Regions from separate parts of the Homo sapiens genome. Here region 1 is linked to region 2. The links are contacts of gene promoters, found by promoter capture Hi-C in human tissues and cell types (Jung and others, 2019). All regions are on one chromosome and are shown on one strand. The core of a region is centred on a gene start or on the middle of the fragment in contact, and the rest is flanking DNA. Distances in the headings are between cores, read along the strand shown.

Region 1 (4,009 bases), core at 177-2,676, 520 kb before region 2:
GTAGGTACTTGTGTTACCCAAATTCTACAGATGAGGAAACAGGCAGAGAGGGTCAGTGACTTGGGCAAGGTCCCGTGGCTGGGTGGCAGAGAGCCTCTGTGAGTTGCTCTGAACCGGTCCATAGGAGGAAGCCCAGCACCTGCAGTGAAGCCCTGGTAAAGGGGAAACTTAGTTGGGAGGCTTTGATTTTGAATTGAGGCCTTGCTTGCTTTAAGAAGGTTCTCATAAGGAAAAGCTGCATGCGTCTTACATTTCTGTATTTCCCCCGTGCCACTGCCAGCCCCATCTTATAAGTTATCCGCGAGTGATGAGAAGTCCCCCCTCCTCCCCGGGGTGAGTGAGAGGGCACCATCCCTGGGGCAAGGGCCCCCAGGCGCAGGATGCACGAACCGAGGGACACACCGCCGCCAGACTGACCTGGTGTGGCGGTCGGGCGGGGCCGGGCCAGGCCGCGACCGCGAGAAACCACAGCCCCACGGAGGAGGCCGGGCCGCGGGGCTGGCGGGGACCCTGCAGGCCGGGCCGAGGTGCGGTGAGGCCTCCTCCCGACCTGGCCGCGTCCTCAGAGTTCGCTCGGGGCTTCGTGTTTGCAGAGCAGCCTCCCGCCTGCCCGGCTTGCCCGGGGATGTGGGTGGACCCGCCCCGCGCGGCCGCGGCCCAGTGCAAACCGTGATCCACCCTCTTCCGCTCGGTGGGAGGAACCCGGGGCTTTGCGCCCCTAACCAGCAGCGTGACCCTCGCAGTCAGGGAACTTCTCATCTGTGAAGAAAGCTTAAGAATGACACCCCTGACAGGAGCATACGTGCTTGCCTGCCCATAGGGGACAGGAACAAACGAGATCATGTATTCCATGAACACGCTTTTAATGCCCACCTACTATATGACAGGTGCTGTGCTAGGCACTTCTGTATTCATTCTAAAATATTAATTTTGCATCGTGTCCTTTTGGTATACTTTATTGAAATACTATGTACAAAAAGTGCAAAAGTCATAAGATCATCTAACACCAACAAATATTTATTTTCATTCAACAAATAAATGATTCTGTAAAACTTATTGGCAATGTGTGAGAGTATTGCACACTGCAATAAAGTGTTGTCAGTAAGAGGCCTCTTCTCTACATTACCTGCTGTTGATCTGGGATGAATTTACCTGAGTACTTGCTTCTTCTGGGACTGGAGATGGGTTTTCGGCTCCATTCTGTCACTAAACACCCTGGCTACCTCCTGTGATCTCTCTGGAACTCCTCAGTGGAATGAGGCGGCTGGCCTTCACACTAAGGACCCTACTTCCTGTGACTGATGAGGGTGGCTTGGGTGTATTTCAGAAATAATAGGACACAATTTGAGTGTGGCTTCTTGTATTTATGATTACTAACACAAATGTTATCCACACATTCATGATAATACACATTTGCAGGTGAATGTCTTTGGCAGAGCTGCTGGAAGAAATGTGAGGCCTGTGACTCATCATGAAATCCCAAGAAGGTTTCACTACTTTACCAACTGAGAAGTTCTCATAGGTGGCTTTAGAGAAGAGCGTTTCTTCTTGTGCAAATAGAATCCTTCTACTGAGCAGTCTTCTAAAGCAGTCATCTCAAAAATGAAGATAATAACACTACTCATTTTATATTTTATGCAGAAAGCTTTTAGAACAGTGCCTGGGCACACACTGAGAGTTTAATAAAAGTTAGCCACAATTATTATTCACTCTTTGACACTCCCCCAAAAGCTTATTTGTCTCCATTCTTCCCTCTTTAAGAAAGGAGGTAGTAGGTTGGAAGGTCTAGCCTAATTGTTATAAGGTGCTGCCATGAATCCCAACCTAAAAATTAACAGTAGGAGGCATAGATCCCTAAGTAGTTTTCTCCCTACACATTCATCCCTTGTGAATACAGGATGATTGGGTAAAGGTCCAACCTCCCTTCCTGGGCTCCCTGGCCTGGAGAGGCACCAGGGCACTCCCTAAGGCAACCTCATCAGAAATCAGAATCCTCATCAGCAGACCTAAGTCCTTCAGGCCACCAGTGCCTTCCCAAGGGGGTTAAAAGTTCTCTAACAAGGGCAGTGTCAGGTATGGAGAAAATGATGGAGTAAGAATTCCTTCCATATGAGTGGAGATTTACAGTTGACAAAGCACTGGCCATTTCTCCATGTTTAGTGGGGTTGATAGGAAGACTTCCCTGGGTTTTGTGTGTTTGTTTTCGTGATGATGGAAGGGTACTGAGTGCAAAGAGCCTTTGGTGTTTTGAATGCAAGGTGACTCTGTCTTTGGCTCTGGAGTTACAGACACCTAGATTTGAGCCACCACTCTGCCATCTATTTGCTTTGTGACCTTCGGCAAGTCTGTTTATATTTTTCTTAACTTTAGCTTCCTCAACTCGAAAATGGATGTAACAATATCACCTAGTTAGCCCATAAGGCTGTTGTGCAGTTTAATTTCTATGATGCAAATAAAGCACTTAGCTCAGTGCCTAAAGTAATGTAGATGCAATACTAGTTAGCTTTCAATATATATTATCAATATTCTTATATGATTCTCTTAGACATGGCAGAAAAAATTCATTCTGATTTTATAGGTGATAAAACCGTATGGAACTACTGATATTTACTATAGCATGGATGAACCTCAAAAATTGTGCTAAGTGAAAGAAGCCAGACCCAACAGACTACCTGTTGTGTGATTATGTCTGTCTAAAATGCCCAGAAAAGGTAAACTTATTAAGATAGAACATTAGCGGTTGCCTCAAGCTGGACGTGGAAAGGGGAATTAACTTAAAAAAAAAACGAGGGATCTCATGGGTTGAGAAGATGAAAATGTTCTGAAATGGATTTATCGTGATGGTTGTACCACTTGGTAAAGCTACTACTAAAAATCATTGTTTTGTACACCTGAAGTGGGTAAATGTTATGATGCATAACATATACATCAATAAAGTTGTTTTAAAAACCCAAAATATCACAGGAGAAGAGGGGGAATAGAATCTAGGTTTCCTATTAGGTGTTCTTTAGACTCTGCTACCTCCCATTGGGTAGGAGAGAGAAGGCAAACAGCAGGGGAGGAGCTATGGTTAGAATCTCCGTTAAATAAGAGAATGGAACTAAGACAATTCTGAGAATGTGGAGGTGGTAGTTTCTTAAAGAGGGAAGAATGGAGAGAAATAAGCTTTTGGGGGAGTGTAAAAGAGTGAATAATAATTGTGGCTAACTTTTGTTAAACTCTCAGTGTGTGCCCAGGCACTGTTCTAAAAGCTTTCTGCATAAAATATAAAATGAGTAGTGTCATTATCTTCATTTTTGAGATGATGAACTTGAAGCATAGAGAATGTAAATACCTTGACCACAGTCATAAGCTAATATATGGCAGGGTCAGGATTTGAACCCAAGTAGCTTGTTCCAAAGCACCTGCATTTTACCCTGATGCTATTAATACATATAAAAAGAAGGAGAGAAATGTCAGGTTTCTGGGCAAAAATCTGGAGTTACATTGTGTGGATGCGTGAGCCTGGAACATTCTGAGACTTTGCTTTAAAAATGTGATGTTGTTTTATATATAAATATGAACCACACCAGATATCTTGCTGGGGGGGTGGATTTGCTCCACCATCTATTGCATGGATAATATGCAGCATGGATATCATTTTTGTATATGAATATCTTAAAATGCCAGACAATCCCTTCACTTCTGTGTTTGAAGTGTGGCTATGCTCATTTCCCAGAGTATGAACTGAGCTCACGTTTTGGGAACAACATTCAGACTGATGTAAACAATCTCAGAATTACTTGGACCATGTTGCCAAGCTCCATTTCCCCTCCCCCAGTCTCATTCCGGGTGCCTCCTTCATCCCTGTGCCCTTTGCCTCATTCCTGTCCCTCTTTACCCTTCCAATGCTCTTTTCTCCATGAAATAGGGAGTCTTTCTGGATTGAATAGAAAAATTATGCCTTAAAGATCCATTCTTTTGGTTTGCTGCATTGAGGAAGAATATGTGTGCAGCTAGAAGAAAAAAC
Region 2 (4,005 bases), core at 298-2,797:
GGCGAAACCTCCTCTCTACTAAAAATACAAAAATTAGCCAGGCGTGGTGGCTGGCTCCTGTAATCCCAGCTACTTGGGAGGCTGAGGCAGGAGAATTGCTTGAACCCGGGAGGCGGAGGTTGCAGTGAGCCGAGATCGCGCCACTGTACTGCAGCCTGAGCAACAAGAGCGAAACTCCGTCCCTCTCAGGGCAAAAAAAAAAGTCTTTCAATTATGGTTTTTATTAAGCATACTGTTTTTCTGATTTCATTAACTGAAAATTAGTGGTAATTAAAAATGTATTACATATAAATAGGAATGTGATTTAAACAAAGAGTGACATCTCTGACAAATTGTGCTTATAAAATTCACTGCTATGTTTACATTTCTTAAGGGACACAGTTATTTCTACTACCAGAAGGTTGCTACCAGTAACGCAAGTGATAACTTATGTTGATTATTCACACCGTTTTCTTCATCCATAAAATAAGGAGACTGGGACTAAATGGCCTATTAAGGTTCTTCTGAAATTCTATGATCAAGTATAATACCCAGCACAAGACCAAGTTCAAAAATGTCAATACACAGGAAACAAATCAGTCTGTAAATATTGAGAACCTATGTTATCAAAGCTAATGTCTTCTGAAATAACTGGAAGTAAAGATGAAAGTATATGAAAGATAATTTTGAATGTTCTGTATTTAGAATGTGCTTCAACATTTAATGCGATCTAATTTACATATCCTTTCTGGTGCTATTGCAAGGTTTGTCAGGGTTTTACGGCAACAGAAGACTATGATGAATTCGAATGGGACACATTTGCTTCTGTGGAGTTACGATTCAAACTGAATGTCCAATATAGGAAGGCAACATATACAACAAGCAAAAGTGATTTTAGAAATAACAGAACGCGGGAGAAAATTCACACACGGAAAATGATACGGATAACAAAAGCAGGTAACTCACAGAAATGCGGCTAGAAAAGAGGCCTCTGCTGGAGCGAGAGCAAATAGAATCAGAGGGCATTAGAACTGAAAAGCTCCTAGGAGCTTTCAGTGAACAAAACTTCATAGCCAAAAAAGCACACGACTGGGCCAGGAGTTCAGAGACAGTCTTGGTGCTCAGGGGTTTGCAGCCCTAGCCGTGTGGTCACTCCCTTGCTTCTCTGGCTATTTCCTTATCTATAAAATGAGTGGGCTAGTTTAGGCCGACTGAGACGCAGACAGGGATACGGTACTGTCCATGGACCTCTGAGCTGCCCTTTCCACATCGCTGGTGAGTTACTTAAACCTCCTGTGTGTTTCCCCCTTTCGTATGTCAAAATAATAACATAAAATCAGAATGTAAATCCAGACGCATTGTTTTGCTGCGATTAAGTTGAACGAAAATAGCAAGGACGAAGTAAGGAGAGAGCCAGCCTACCCGCGGGATGAGGCGTCCCGCGGCGGAGTGGGCTGGGGGCGTGTCGTCGCGGAGGGGAGCGGCGAACCAGGCAGGAGGCGGAAGAGACCGCCCCGTGGGCGGAAGTGACGCAAGGCCTACTGTCGGCTGGGAGGGGAGGTGTAGCCGGTCTTTGGGGGTAGGCGGTAGTGGCGGAAGAGGTTCGGCGGCTGATGGCGGATCAGGATCGGAAGCCTGCGTAACTTTCTCCCTTGATCCGGGAGTCTTTCCACTGGGTAAGGCGCCTCCCCGGTCCACCCCAGCGCCTTGTGCGGGGCGGCCTCCAGCTGCATCTCTTTTAGGGCTCGTGCTACACCCTTCAGCCCCTGTACTGTAGGGGCCTGGCCGGTCTCGGGAGAGGTCTCTGTGGTGACGAGGCTTTCCTTCCCGAAGACAAACCTTCCTTTCCAGACTGCGATTGTGACGGGGGTGTGGGCGACTCGGATCAGCTGTGGAGTTTTGGAATGGCAACGGGTGGCCGCCCCACGCGGTGGGAGGCCCGTGGGACAGGCCTTCGCGATTTGGGGGAGGCGTGTGGGACGGGGGCCCTTTGGCTGGGGACGAGTGACGCTGGCGACCCCCGAAGGAAAAGCTTCTGGTGTCCAAGGCTAAACTCTGGGGTGACTGTTTTGAGGGCAGTGTGGGTTTTACCGGCGCAGTAAGCTGAGAAAACACGTAGGTCGCGTCCGAGAAGGACGCTGGGGTTTGCCTTTGCGGAGAGAAACCCAGCTGTTTTGGTTTGAGTCGCCGGTGGCGAAGGGGGCGGAGACTCCCTGCGCCGCCTACTTTTGAGGGCCGCGGGCGGAGTTGGCGGTTCTGGCTGATGGCCTGCTTCACCTGGAATCCATTCCCCACCCCGCCCCGTTCGCAAGGTGTGGACTAGTCCCGACCGACTTGCACTCCTGGCTTAGGGAATCTGTGGCTAGAGTTTAGCGTGCGCGCGCGCGCGTACACCTTATTAGTAAAAAATTGAGCTTAGCGTGCGTCTGTGTGGGTGTGTGTACACACCTTATTGGTAAAAGTTTTGTTAGAAAACACTGGCATTTGACTTTAGACATACACAGTGTTAGATTTCCGGTTTCACACAGTGGTTATGAATTGCTATTATGTTAGGCTTTAGATGGGAAAATAAATCTTGATTTTTCAGCTGTCTGCATTCTGCTAATGTTAAAATTTCTACGAGCTGTGCACGAACAATTAATAGTTACAAGTTTGGTGCTCAATTCCTAAAGGATTTAAAGAGATCATTTGAATAGAAACTAAAAGTGGGTCGATCGTCCTCAAAGTGCTTTTCGGGTTTAGGGAAGGAGCTTAGGACAGCCTTTCTCTTTCGTTCTGTTCCTTTCAAGGGTAAACTTGAAGGATTGTTTGATGATGCCGACTTCTAATAAGGTTTTATTTATTTTTCAAACTGATTGTTCAACTTCAAAGAACATTGTAGTTTTTGTTTTCTAGTCATCACGTTCTTTTTTTTTTTTTTTCCTTGAGATGGAGTCTTGCTCTGTCTCCCAGGCTGGAGTGCAGTGGCGCGATCGCGGCTCATTGCAACCTCCGCCTCCCAGGTTCAAGCGATTCTCCTGCCTCAGCCTCCTGAGTACCTGGGATTACAGGCGCGCACCACCACACTGAAGGGGTGGGTTGCCCCTCCACACCTGTGGGTGTTTCTCGTTAGGTGGAATGAGAGACTTGGAAAAGAAAAAGACACAAAGTACAGAGAAAGAAATAAGGGGATCCGGGGAACCAGCGTTCAGCATATGGAGGATCCCGCCAGCCTCTGAGTTCCCTTAGTATTTATTGATCATTTGTGGGTGTTTCTCCGAGAGGGGGCTATGTCAGGGTCACAAGACAATAGTGGGGAGAGGGTCAGCAGACAAACACGTGAACAAAGGTCTTTGCATCATAGACAAGGTAAAGAATCAAGTGCTGTGCTTTTAGATATGCATACACATAAACATCTCAATGCTTTACAAAGCAGTATTGCTGCCCACATGTCCCACCTCCAGCCCTAAGGCGGTTTTTCCCTATCTCAGTAGATGGAACGTACAATCGGGTTTTATACTGAGACATTCCATGCCCAGGGACGGGCAGGAGACAGATGCCTTCCTCTTGTCTCAACTGCAAGAGGCATGCCTTCCTCTTATACTAATCCTCCTCAGCACAGACCCTTTACGGATGTCGGGCTGGGGGATGGTCAGGTCTTTCCCTTCCCACGAGGCCATATTTCAGACTATCACATGGGGAGAAACCTTGGACAATACCTGGCTTTCCTAGGCAGAGGTCCCTGCAGGCTTCCACAGTTTTTGTGTCCCTGGGTACTTGAGATTAGGGAGTGGTGATGACTCTTAAGGAGCATGCTGCCTTCAAGCATCTGTTTAACAGAGCACATCTTGCACAACCCTTAATCCGTTTAACCGTGAGTTTGACACAGCACATGTTTCAGAGAGCACGGGGTTGGTGGTAAGGTCATAGATTAACAGAATCTCAAGGCAGAATAATTTTTCTTAGTACAGAACAAAATGGAGTCTCCTATGTCTACTTCTTTCTACACAGACACAGTAACAGTCTGATCTCTCTTGCTTTTCCCCA

The links. Contacts are between HindIII fragments. The study calls those that stand out against the background at their distance.
Region 1: a fragment that was not itself captured here is called in contact with the fragment with the promoter of TAX1BP1 in region 2 in 1 of the 25 tissues and cell types used here (H1 embryonic stem cells).

What each region holds. Positions count from the first base shown.
Region 1 is chr7:27,220,109-27,224,117 of GRCh38, forward strand. No RefSeq gene overlaps it. Among named protein-coding and RNA genes, the nearest start is that of EVX1, 21 kb to the right of the region's middle. RefSeq lists an enhancer at 2-563. The HindIII fragment of the contact is 3,563 bases long and covers 1-3,208 here.
Region 2 is chr7:27,738,615-27,742,619 of GRCh38, forward strand. TAX1BP1 (Tax1 binding protein 1) reads left to right here and starts at 1,548. Exons shown (of 17, transcript NM_006024.7): 1 at 1,548-1,655. It overlaps TAX1BP1-AS1 (TAX1BP1 antisense RNA 1), which reads right to left and starts at 2,061. Exons shown (of 2, transcript NR_187572.1): 1 at 1,402-2,061. RefSeq lists enhancers at 1,483-2,345, 1,562-1,831, 2,346-3,209 and a silencer at 1,999-2,231. The HindIII fragment of the contact is 10,372 bases long and covers 1-3,207 here.